Regions from separate parts of the Homo sapiens genome. Here region 1 is linked to region 2. Evidence: promoter capture Hi-C in 16 types of primary human blood cells and fetal thymus (Javierre and others, 2016). All regions are on one chromosome and are shown on one strand. Each heading gives the region's core, a stretch centred on a gene start or on the middle of the fragment in contact. The rest is flanking DNA. Distances are from core to core; before and after follow the strand shown. Region 1 overlaps CEP70 (centrosomal protein 70). Region 2 holds the start of PIK3CB (phosphatidylinositol-4,5-bisphosphate 3-kinase catalytic subunit beta).

Region 1 (6,267 bases), core at 829-3,328, 330 kb before region 2:
ACTTCAACCGGTAATCTATTTTTATGTCACTCATTTCCTTTAACGATATAAATGATTACATTTTGTTTCATATTTTTTAGTATATTTTGTCTAATTAGTCTGAATCTTGTGTTCATCCCATAATGGCTTAGCATGATAAACGATCAATAACTATCCATTAGTGTGATTCTTCCCTTTGTCTTCTTCCTCTTCTAGTCTTTTCTTCTAGGAAGGCTAGGGCTTTTTCTAGTCCATCCCTTCTGAGATGAAGAAAGGTGGAGTCAGCACTGTTTCCTCCTACTGGGAGAACCCTCTGACAGGCAGTGATTGAGGAAATACCATGATTTACACTATTACTAATTATTTTACACTCTTCTGAGATACAGACTGGAGGAACTCCGGTCTATAAAGTAAGTATATTAATCTAGCACTGTCACTCAATCAAAATGTTTATGTATTGTATAGCTCTGTCTGAGCCCTATATAAAAAGGGAAGTCGAAATTTAAAAAAAATTAACATCACCACCCCCAATTTTGTTGTCTTGGAATATAATATTCTGCTTCATTCCTTTTAACAAATATTAATTGAGCACTCATTCATCAGGAGGATCTTGGGGACATATCAGAACAAATAAAAACACTGTCTTCATGGAGCTTATACATTCTTAACAGATATCTTCTGCATCATTTGTACTTCATGTAATAAGACTTATGTTGCAAACACTGTTATTGAATCACATTTTCATTAACAGGCATATGCTATGTATTATATTAGTTACTAATAAATCTAAAGTGTAAAGGGCAAAGAAGTTAAATACTACTGATTTCAACTATTTACCTTTCAGCAAACTAGTTAACAAAAACTGAAAAAACCTGAAGCTATGCAATAAATACACAATAACTCTATAAATAAAATGTGGTCTTCCATGAAGAGATAGGATAGGGAAGGGTAGCGTTGGCTGCTAGCTTACTATCTGTTCTAGAGAATAAGCAGAAATGGAGATAAGCTCAGTTCTGAGAGACAGAAAATAAAGTGTGAAGAGAGAGAAAATATCCCCAATTATAATAAAATGAAGGATAAGACATTATATCTGAAGAGGGATAAGGGCCAGGAAAATCGCAGCATGGAGATATGAAAAGGAGGCAGATGAAGGTAGAACAGGGAAGGGCCTAGAAGTACAAAGTGGATCCACTATAGATTTTCAATAAGGAAACTAACCCCAAAATTTCTTGTTTGGTAGAATCTTAGAGGAGGTAAAGCTTACAGTAATGACAACATCAAATAGACAGTACCTAAAATAGATATGTAAGTAGGAAGATTTCGGTTTTAGATAATAAGCTTTTTTAGCTTTAGAGTTAACACACAAACAAAAAAATTAAACCCTATTTAATTTTTAGCCCTGAATTAAGTCCTATTAATAAAGCACATAGAGTCCAATAGATGTTCAAAGCATATAATCATAGTCAACCCCTTACCTTTAAGGATGTCAGTTGATCTGCCCACATTTCTATTACAGGAACAAGATGCTCAAATCCACAATCTTGAACAAGATCTTTATTAAAATTTTGGACTCCCCCTTTGGTCTGTTTATAAATTATTACTGGAGCTCTTGGATTGTGGATAATTGAATTGATGCTACACAGCACCTTTAAAAAAACATAGTGTATATAGTCAAAATATTTATCCTATGCCTACAAAGTTATATATTTTAAAGGAGTGCTTTATGTCTATATATATTATATACACATATTTCATTAAATATACAAAGAAAATTATCATAAGGAATTGGCTCATGCAATTATGAAGACTGACAAGTCCCAAGATCTGCAGTGAGTAAGCGAAGACCCAGAAAAGGTAATGGGTATTTGCAGTCCAAATGCAGGCAGACTGAGACCCCTGCAAGTGCTAATGTTTCAGTTTGAGTCTGAAGGCAAGAAAAAAACCAGTGTCCCATCTTGAAAGCAGTCAGGGAGGAGGAGCTCCCTCTTATTCAGCCTTTTGTTCTACTCAGGGCTTTGAATCATTGGATGAGGCCCACCCCATTAGGAAAGGCAGTCTGATTTACTAAAGTCTACTGATTCGGATGTCAATCTCATCCAGAAGCACCTTCCCAGACACATCCAGAATAATGTTTAACCAAATATCGGGCATCCTATGCCGCAGTAAAGTTGAAACAAAATTAACTATTACAAACACTACCTAGGTTCAAAAATTGTTAGTATTTTGCCATATTTGCTCACTATCTATATTTTTAGGTGAACCATTTGAAGAAACTCTTCACCCTCAAATAATAAAGCATGCATCTTTTAAAAGTAGGCATATTCTCCTACAAACTCACAAGAACATTATCAGACTATTTAAGGAAATTAACAGCAATCCCCAGGCTGAGTGTGGTGGCTCATGCCTGTAATCCCAGCACTTTGGGAGGTTGAGGCAGGAGGATCACTTGAGCCCAGGAATTCAAGGCTGCAGTGAGCTATGATAATGCACTTCAGCCTGGGCAACAGAGCAAGACCCTGTCTCCAAAAATAATATCATTGATGCCTGGATTGAATTTTAGGTATCTTAATATATTAAGATAGTATACTATTTGACTATAACCCTCTCCCCATAAGTGATGGGTTCTACCTTACATATCATCCGAGGAAAAAAAGGGAGACCTCAAAAAGCATGTTTAAAGAGAGAAGAATAAAGCCATTTCCTATTACCACCATCAAGTTCAGCCTATTTAATAAAAAGTTTCACAATATAAAGATAGCATTTTGCTCTTGAATCTTTGTCCCTGGTCATACTTCAAGATATAACTAATAGGCCTCCTGGTAATATGACTTAAGATGTTTATTACTTCAGATGTTTATTTAGAAGCTTTTTAAGTCCAAATTAGTATAATTCAATATTTCACTTCAAATTGATGTATGTATATTTGTTTTATATATTTATTTGACAGAGTCTCACTCTGCAGCCTAAGATGGAGTGCAGTGGTGTGAACGGAGCTCACTGCAGCGTTGAATTCCTGGGCTCAAGTGATCTTCCCATGTCAACCTCTCAAGTGCTAGGACTACAGGCACAAGCCACCATGCCCAGCTAATTAAATTTTTTTTTTTCTAGAGATGTGGTCTCACTATATTGCCCAGGCTGGTCTCAAACTCCTGCCCTCTAGCAATCCTCCTGCCTCGGTCACCCAAAGTGTTAAGATTACAGGCATGAGCCACCATACCCGGCTTGAATTCCCCTTTTAAAGGACAAAGCCTCTCAAATTGAGTCTCAGAAACAAAATGAAATCCAGTTATATACTGGTACAAGAAAGTCTAAAACAAAACAGTTTTCAGAAAGGTGCTTGGTTCCCATTTACAATAGCAATAAAAGTTATAAAATACCTAGGAAATAACAAGGTATTTCCTAACAAGAAATATGCAAGAGCTAAATTTAAAAATACACAACACTTTATTGAAGACTATAAAAGATGACCCTGATGAAAGTACATATTTCTGAATGTGATGATTCAAAAAGGTTAAGGTGTCATTTCTCCAAATATTAATCTATAAAGTCAATTCAATTTTAGTTCATCTCAATGAGATTTATTTTTTAATTTGAAAAACTGTTCATCCAGAAGAATAAATGTGCTAAAAATATAGCCAATAAAAAAAATTTTTTTAATGATAGGATACTTGCCTCAAAGGCTATTAAAACTTTTAACTATAGAAATTAAAATATGGAAATAGTTGAGAAATGCAACAGACTAGAGAATCTAAAAACAAATCTGTGCATATAAATGAATATGATCTATGATAAAATGTTATTTCAATAAAGTAGAGAAAAAAGTAGCGTATTAGAGACTGCAAACACAAATGCCCAGAGAATTCAGGTACGAGTATAAATGAGTGACGTAAGGATGAATAGGGACTGCTAACTATAGAACACATGCTCATATCTGACAAGGGAAAGGCCTAATTCTGCTGTGATAATAACCATGCAGGAATTTGTTGCCAGATCTTCTGACTTTTTAGGAGAAGTTAGAAATAGCAGCCTAGAAAAAATAAAATATCTTAATTTTTAAAAAAATGAATAATCTAAAACTTAAAAATCTTATGTGTACCCAATAAAATGTGAGTGAAAGTCCAGTTCAGTCACTAAACTACCAGGTTTAACTGCTCAGCTATTCAATAAATGATCTATAAAACTAGGAAGGTGAGATTCCCTATATCACACCATATAGAAAATTAAATTTCAGATGAACTAAGGTCTCTAAACAAAAACAAAAGCCATACAAGGACCCTAAGAAAATAGATTTACTTAATAATAATGGTAACAACAGAAACAATACGAGGGAAAATGGCTTACATGGGGAAAGTAGGGAAAAGGATTATAGAAACTTTTAAAAATCATAAAGCTCTTTACTAACCTCCTTTGAACTAGGCCAGAGTCTCTTTTAAGTAGTAAGACGAATTCTACAATGTTTTTAGTCAAATAGTTATGTCACGGAAAGACAAGACAGAATAAGTACACATAAATATGAGGTGCAAGTATTCCTTACCAACTGATAATTTATTACACCACAACTGATAACCAAGATTCATGACAAACATCAGTCTTTTTGTCATGAAAAATCAATTCAATACCTGAAAGTATCTCTGGTCAATTAGGGCCTGTTGCTGATTATATTTGCTGGGCTCATCTTTCTTCTCTGTGTCCTCAGCCTTCTTATGATTAATAAGCTCCTGTAATCTAAAAGGGGGAAAAAAATCAAGATAATACAAAATTACTTCCTAGACACTGGACCAAGATGATAAACTAAGTCAATGATCCAGCCACCCTCCCAACAGCCTTATATCACTTTACTTATATGTGTGTGTGCACACATGTATGTATGTGTATGTATAAACACATACATATATGCATATATAGAGTTAAAAAAAATTTTTTTTTTTTTTTGAGACAGAATCTCGCTCTATCACCCAGGCTGGAGTGCAGTGGCGCAATCTCGGCTCACTGCAAGCTCCGTCTCCCGGGTTCACACCATTCTCCTGCCTCAGCCTCCTGAGTAGCTGGGACTACAGGCGCCCGCCACCATGCCTGGCTAATTTTTTATATTTTTAGTAGAGACGGGGTTTCACCGTGTTAACCAGGATGGTCTCGATCTCCTGACCTCGTGATCCACCCACCTCAGCCTCCCAAAGTGTTGGGATTACAGGCGTGAGCCACCGTGCCCGGCCAGAGTTTAAAATTTTTTAAATCATATTGTCACTGGAAAACTAGAAGGCCCTCTCAATAAATCGCAAATTAGAAGGAATCTCTGAAGACAGAAGAGATCAGATTGAAGAAGAAAGTTCTAACCACCCCCCAGCACCCACAAAAGACAGCACAAGAGAGAAATACAACAAAGGATGGAAGCGACTTCCATCCAACGTGCTCCAAGATCACAGACTACAGATAAAGGGAGCAGGAAGCATGGGAAGGGCCACTGGTTTGGGTACTGTAGCAGGAACAGCTAGACGTTTGGTCCCTCTCTCTTTGTATTCTACCAGTGGCAAAGAACAGAAAATGGCAATGCCTGGGCCAGTCAAGAGGGCGTGGAGATCCAACAGACCATTATTCCAGGTGGCTACTAGAATGCTAGGGGAAAGGAGAGTCTCTTCACCCAGAAATACAACTATGTATAAGTGTATCCACCTAGTAGTAAACACTTGTCCTTCTCCAAATATCTAGAAGACAGGCTGTAGTAATCTTTCTTCTCCCTCCTCATGGCTTTGAAAACAGTACAGTAGTACACGCTGATCCGTAGTTTCATTTTCCATGGTTTTAGTTATGCAAGGTAAACCAGGGTCCAAAAATATTAAAAGGAAAATTCCAGTAATAAATAAGTTTTTTTATTTTATTTTTTTTTAATGCTCACTAGTCTGAGTAGTGTGATGAAATCTCATGCTGTCCCACTCCATCCCACCTAGGATGTGATTCATCCCTTTGTCCAGCTTATCCATGCTGTAACTGTATACATACACTACCTACCAGTTAGTCACTTAGTAGCCATCTTGATTATCAGATCAACTGTTGGGTACCACAGTGCTTATGTTCAAGTAACAATCCTTCTTTAACTTAATAATGGACCCAAAATGCAAGAGTAGTCATGTTAGCAATTTTGATGTGCCAAAGAGAAGTCATGAAGTGTGTCCTTTAAGTGAAAAGGTGAAAGTTCTCCACTTAAGAAAAAAAGTGTATGCTGAGGTTGCTAAGATATACAGTGAGAACGAATATTCTATCTGTGAAATTGTGAAGAAGGAATAAGAAATC
Region 2 (5,938 bases), core at 2,812-5,311:
ACTCTAGCCTGGGCAACAGAGCGAAACTCCGTCTCAAAATAATAATAATAATAATAATAATAATAATAATAATAATAATAATAATAAAGCAGGAACTCACTTTCCTCAGTTAAGTATTTTATTTATTTATTGGGGGCAAGGCGCGGTGGCTCCCGCCTGGAGTCCCAGCACTTTGGGAGGCCAAGGCGGGCGGATCACGAGGTCAGGAGATCAAGACCGCCCTGACTAACACGGTGAAACCCCGTCTCTACTAAAAAAAAAATACAAAAAATTAGCCAGGCGTGGTGGCGGGCACCTATGGTCCCAGCTACTGGGGAGGCTGAGACAGGAGAACGGCGTGAACCCAGGAGGTGTGAACTCCAGGCTGGGCAACAGAGTGAGACTCCGTCTCAAATAAATAAAATAAAATAAAATAAAATTAAATTAAATTAAAATTAAAAATAGTGCTAGGCGCAGTGGCTCACGCCTGTAATCCCAGCACTTTGGGAGGCCGAGGCGGCCAGATCACCTGAGGTCAGGAGTTCAAGACCAGCCTGGCCAACATGGAGAAACCCCTAAAAATACAAAAAATTAGCTGGGCGTGGTGGCGGGTGCCTGTAATCCCAGCTACTTGGGAGGCTGAGGCAGAAGAATTGTTTGAACCGGGGAGGCGGAGGTTGCAGTGAGCCAAGATTGCACATTGCACTCCAGCCTGGGCAACAAGGGCAAAACTCAGTCTCTAAATAAGTAAATAAATAAAAACAAAATAAAAAATAAAAATAAATAATTTATTTATTGGGGCCAGGCACAGTGGCTGACGCCTGTAATCCCAGCACTTTGGGAGGCCAAGGCGGGAGGAACACGAGGTCAAAAGACTGAGACCATCCTGGCCAATATGGTGAAACCCCATGTTTACTAAAAATACAAAAATTAGCGGGGCATGGTGGTGTGCACCTGTAGTCCCAACTAATTTGGAGGCTGAGGCAGGAGAATCGCTTGAACCCGGGAGGTCACAGTGAGCAGAGATCGTGCCATTGCACTCCAGCCTGGCGACAGAGAGAGACTCCATCTCAAAACAAACAAACAAACAAAACAGAGGCCCATAAGACTGGGTAACATCCCCATAGCCCCAGCTGTTTTTACCCAGGTTGAGGCCTAAAACCAAGAGGTGACTTCTGACTCCCAGCCTTTTCACAGTGGCTAGCAGTAGTTCTACTGTTGAGTTCAACAGTCTAAGCTAGACAACTGGGAAAACCTCAAGAAAGAACATAATTTAGACTACAGTGTTCATTTTTCACTTTTTTCCATATAGTTGGCTGACATTCACAAAGCAAGTTGAAGCAAAAGCCTTTATGGATGAGTCTTTAAGAACACCAAGAAAGATAGGCAAGAGGTGCAAAATGACAAATCAAAACCCGACTTGATTTTCAACACTTCTAAAAAACACTCCGAAGGTGGTGGACTCAGGGTGTGAATCAGGGGTGTAAATTAGATTTTTGCTTCTTAAGTCATTTTGGCTTTAGTGAATACAATTCCAGTTTAAACCTTTAAGATTTTTACTTTCGGCCGGTCGCGGTGGTTCATGCCTGTAATCCCAGCATTTTGGGAGGCCCAGGCTGGCGGATCATTTGAGCCCAGGAGATCAAGACCAGCCTGGCCAACATGGCAAAACCACCTCTCTACCAAAAATACAAAGATTGGGCCGGGCGCGGTGGCTTCCTCCTGTAATCCCAGCAGTTTGGGAGGCCGAGGCGGGCGGATACCTGAGGTTGGGAGTCCGAGACCACCCTGACCAACATGGAGAAACCCCGTCTCTACCAAAAAAAGTACAAAATTAGCCGCGTGTGGTGGCACATGCCTGTAATCCCAACTACTCGGGAGGCTATGGCAGGAGAATCGCTTGAACCCGGGAGGCGGAGGTTGCGGTGAGCTGGAGATCGCGTCATTGCACTCCAGCCTGGACAACAAAAGCGAAACTCCGTCTCAAAAAAAAAAAAAAAAAAACAAAATTGAAAGATTGGCCAGGCGTGGTGGCACGCCCCTGTAGTCTCAGCCACTAGGGAGCCTGAGGCAGGAGGATCGCTTGAACCCAGGAGGCGGAGGTTGCAGTGAGCCAAGATGGCGACATTGCACTCCAGCCTGGGCGACAGACCGAGACCCTGCCTCAAAAAACAACAATAATTTTTTTTTAAAAAAGAAGCAAGATTCGGTCTCAAAAAGATTTTTTTTTTTTCTTTTTGAGACAGGGTATCCCTCTGTTGCCCAGGCTGGAGTCCAGTGGTGCCATCTCGGCTCACTGCAACCTCCGCCTCCCGGGTTCAAGGGATTCTCCTGCCTCAGCCTCCCAAGTAGCTGGGATTACAAGCGCCCGCCACCACGCCCTGCTAATTTTTGTGTTTTTGGTAGAGACGGGGTTTCACCATGTTGCTTGGGCTGGTGTCGAACTCCTGGAATCAATTGATCCGCCCGCCTCGGCCTCCCAAAGTGCTGGGATTACAGGCGTGAGCCAACGCACCTGGTCAGAAAAAAGACTTTACTTTCTTCCATACCTGCATTCTGAAACTGGGTTAAGATCCTTATCTGACCACCCTTTCCTGTGCTACATTATTATGACTTAAACAGTTCTGCTTTTACCATAAAATCTTACAATGTAGCATAAAAATCCCCAAATGATTAATGAACTGCTGAGACCTCTGACTCGTTGGAGACAATTTTATTACGAATCATATCTCCAAACTTCCATTCAGTGCTTCAAAATAAGTACTCATTTAATTATCATGACTTCACCAGACAGTCACACTGCCCACAATGATGTTTACAAAAGCACTTGTCACTCCCTTTGGATGTAGCAATGCAGAAAAAAGAGTCTGTTTCCATACTCTTCGTGTGTTTATAACTCTGTAACAAGTGGCAGAGTTCAAGTGTCACTTGAGATGAAACAGCAAAGCACTTCAAGTTTACGTCCCACCATCTTTCATCCTAAGCGAATCCCGAATTTGCTCGGTTTCATTTCAGCAGTAATTCCCACTCAGTACCTGAGACAGGGTTCCAATTCAGCCCTGCGGGAAGAGACTGCAGGATTCTAGTAAGGGACTATAGGATTCTATTTTGGCCACTGCGAGGTTAACAGGCTCCAATATTAAGCAACTCCAGTATCGGTTACTGCAACACCAGAGCAGATCGGAAATAAATGTGCCCCCAAACGCACGCCAGCAGCCAGGAATTAGCAATAGCTAACACGAGATGCTGCAGCAGGGGTATCATTTACTTAGCACTTGTTCAGTTATGCCTAACCTCACAACAACCTTATGGTGTATGTATTATTATTTCCATTTAACACATCAGGATATTTTGGCCCAAGGCCCCAGGACTGGTCAGCAGCGGCGTTGGGATTCGAAAACATGTCCATAACCTAATAACCCTGGGTCCACGCCTCTGAAATACACTTCTGCGCAAAAAGGCACCTGAGGGTCGGGAAGTTCCGGAGGTGTCCGCATAGACGCGGGGCGCGAGTACGCCGTCTCTCCACAGAAACGCCCCTCAGGAACGGGACCCAAAGCGACAGTGACCCGGGACGCCCGGCAGCGTCTCTGCCGCCCAGGGGCCGGGGGGCGCCACTCACCTTGGAGAGCCCAGGGCGGGCCGCAACCAAGCCAGACGCCCCCACCGGCCGGTAGGCGGTTATCCTCCAAGCTGGCAGGAAGCGCGGTGCAACCACAAGAGTCGCCAGCGCCGCAGGTAGCGGCAAGCTAGAACGCACCGCCAGCACGCCCGGGGGCACCGCAGCCGGCGCCGCGACCCAGCCGCCCCTCAGCCGCGCCGCATCCGGGTCCCGGCCGCCGCACTCACCTGCCTGGCGTTCCGCCGCCGCCGCCTGCTACTATTCCAAGTGCGCAGTCAGCAGCCCAGGCCGCCGCAACCGCTCCACTCCGGCGCCCCCATCCCTGCCTCTCTCGATCACCTCCCGCCTGCCCCGCGCAGCACTACACTCGCCCCCTCCCCACTGCCATGGCCCGCTCCGCCGCAGCGCCGCACAGGCCGACAGAGCACGCGCGCGCCGCCGCCGAACCCGCGCCCGTGTGCGCGCGCGCCAGCCTCTCAGGCCTGCATCCCAGCAGCCCCCGCCCCGCCCTGCGCCGCCCTCGGGCCAATCCCGGGCCCCGCGGTGGCGGCGGCGGCGGCGGCGGCAGTTGGGCTGGCAGGGTGTGGGGAGAGGCCTCACTGCCGATTCCTCTACCGTTGCCAGCCCGGCTGCGACGCTGCTGCACGGCCTTTCCTAACTCTCTTTGCGACTCCCAGAGGACTGCGGAATAGGGAATCCCCGGCAAGTCGCCTTCAGGAGAGACCCATCACCCGCTGCGGCCTCCATAACCTCCTCCCGAGAGATTCCGCTCTTCCTAGGTTCCTTGCTGGCCTTTTCTTCCCAGCCCTTCTCCCTGTTCTGCGACATGGACTGACTCCTAAATTCTTGGACGCAGCACTTATTTTTTTCCCGATACCCGTCTCCGTCTTTCACTCCCTTTGTGAGGATAGGGCGCTAGCTCGGCTGCCTCACAGCTGGCCCTTCAGTCCCTACACTGTGAATGGTTGTTTCTAGGGAAAAGTCCAGGCTTTCAAGCCCAAGATTCTTGTTCTTTGTTCAATTTTGCAGTAACAACACCTAACATTTGTCTGCAGAGCCTTAAACTTTACCCCTTTTTGCCTACCTTGTTTCCTGTTACCTTTGACCCCAACCGCGAAAAATCACAGTCCTCTTTCTAGTGGGACACTTAAATTTTACTTACTGAAAACCAACATTTTAACTCACTCCAAAGCTAGTATATTCTAACGTAATGCTCCTATATTACCCTGGACAAATAGTTGAGTAGTCAGGGATAAAATCTAGAAGTACAACATAATAAAAAGCAAACGTGACAAATCAATTAAGTGACAAACCAATAGTTTATTTGAGAAATGATCCTAGTTTTTTTATTTTTTATTTATTTACTTATTTTGAATGAGAGTTTCGCTACTGTTGCCCAGGCTGGAGTGCAATGGCGCGATCTTGGCTCACCGCAACTCTGCGTCCCCCGGTCAAGCGATTCTCCTGCCTCAGCCTTCCTGAGGATTACAGGCATGCGCCACCACGCCTGGCTAATTTTGTATTTTTAGTAGAGACGGGGTTTCTCCACGTTGGTCAGGCTGGTCTCGAACTCCCGACCTCAGGTGATCAGCCCGCCTCGGCCTCCCAAAGGGCTGGGATTACAGACATGAGCCACCGTGCCCGGCCAATGATCCTGGTTTTAATTGACTTTCGATTTAAAGCAAGAACATTGAAAAATAAATTCCAGAAGAGGCTGTAATACCAACACTTTGGGAGGCCGAGGTGGGCAGATCACTTGAGCCCAGGAGTTCACACCTAGCCTGGGCAATATGGCGAGACTGACAAAAATGACGTGAGTGTGGTGATGTGCATCTGTTGTCCCAGCTACTTGGGAGACTGAGGTGGGAGGATAATATGAACCCAGGAAGTCGAGGGAAGTCGAGGCTGGTGTGAGTCGAGATAGCACGGTAGCACCACTGCACTCCAGCCCGGGAAATAGAGCAAGACCCTGTCTAGGAAAAAAAAAAAAAATCCAGAAGAATTAAAAAATATAAAAATTTACAAAACAGAAACTTAAGAGGAAAAAAAAATTTTTTTTTGAGACAGTCTCATTCTGTTGCCCAGGCTGGAGTGCAGTGGCACCATCTCAGCTCATGGCAACCTCCACCTCCCAGGTTCAAGCAGTTCTCTTGCCTCAACCTCCAGAGTAGCTGGGATTACAGGCACCCGCCACCACACACGCCTAATTTTTTTTTTCTTTTTTTGAGACGGAGTCTTGCTCTGTCGTCAGGCTGTAGTACAGTGGCACAATCTCGGCTCACTGCAACCTCCGCCTCCTGAATTCAAGGGATTCCCCTGCCTCAGCCTCCCAAGTAG

What was found. The method cuts DNA at HindIII sites, captures the fragments that hold promoters and counts their contacts. A CHiCAGO score of 5 or more calls a contact.
Region 1: a contact is called between a fragment that was not itself captured here and the fragment with the promoter of PIK3CB in region 2, in 1 of 17 cell types (fetal thymus). The highest score is 5.9, in fetal thymus.

Annotation. Positions count from the first base shown.
Region 1 is chr3:138,503,841-138,510,107 of GRCh38, forward strand. It overlaps CEP70 (centrosomal protein 70), which reads right to left. Exons shown (of 18, transcript NM_024491.4): 12 at 4,599-4,704; 13 at 1,455-1,625. Among named protein-coding and RNA genes, the nearest start is that of ESYT3, 72 kb to the left of the region's middle. The HindIII fragment of the contact is 1,527 bases long and covers 1,316-2,842 here.
Region 2 is chr3:138,830,867-138,836,804 of GRCh38, forward strand. It overlaps PIK3CB (phosphatidylinositol-4,5-bisphosphate 3-kinase catalytic subunit beta), which reads right to left and starts at 4,062. Exons shown (of 24, transcript NM_006219.3): 1 at 3,829-4,062. RefSeq lists a silencer at 3,559-4,298. The HindIII fragment of the contact is 25,969 bases long and covers 1-5,938 here.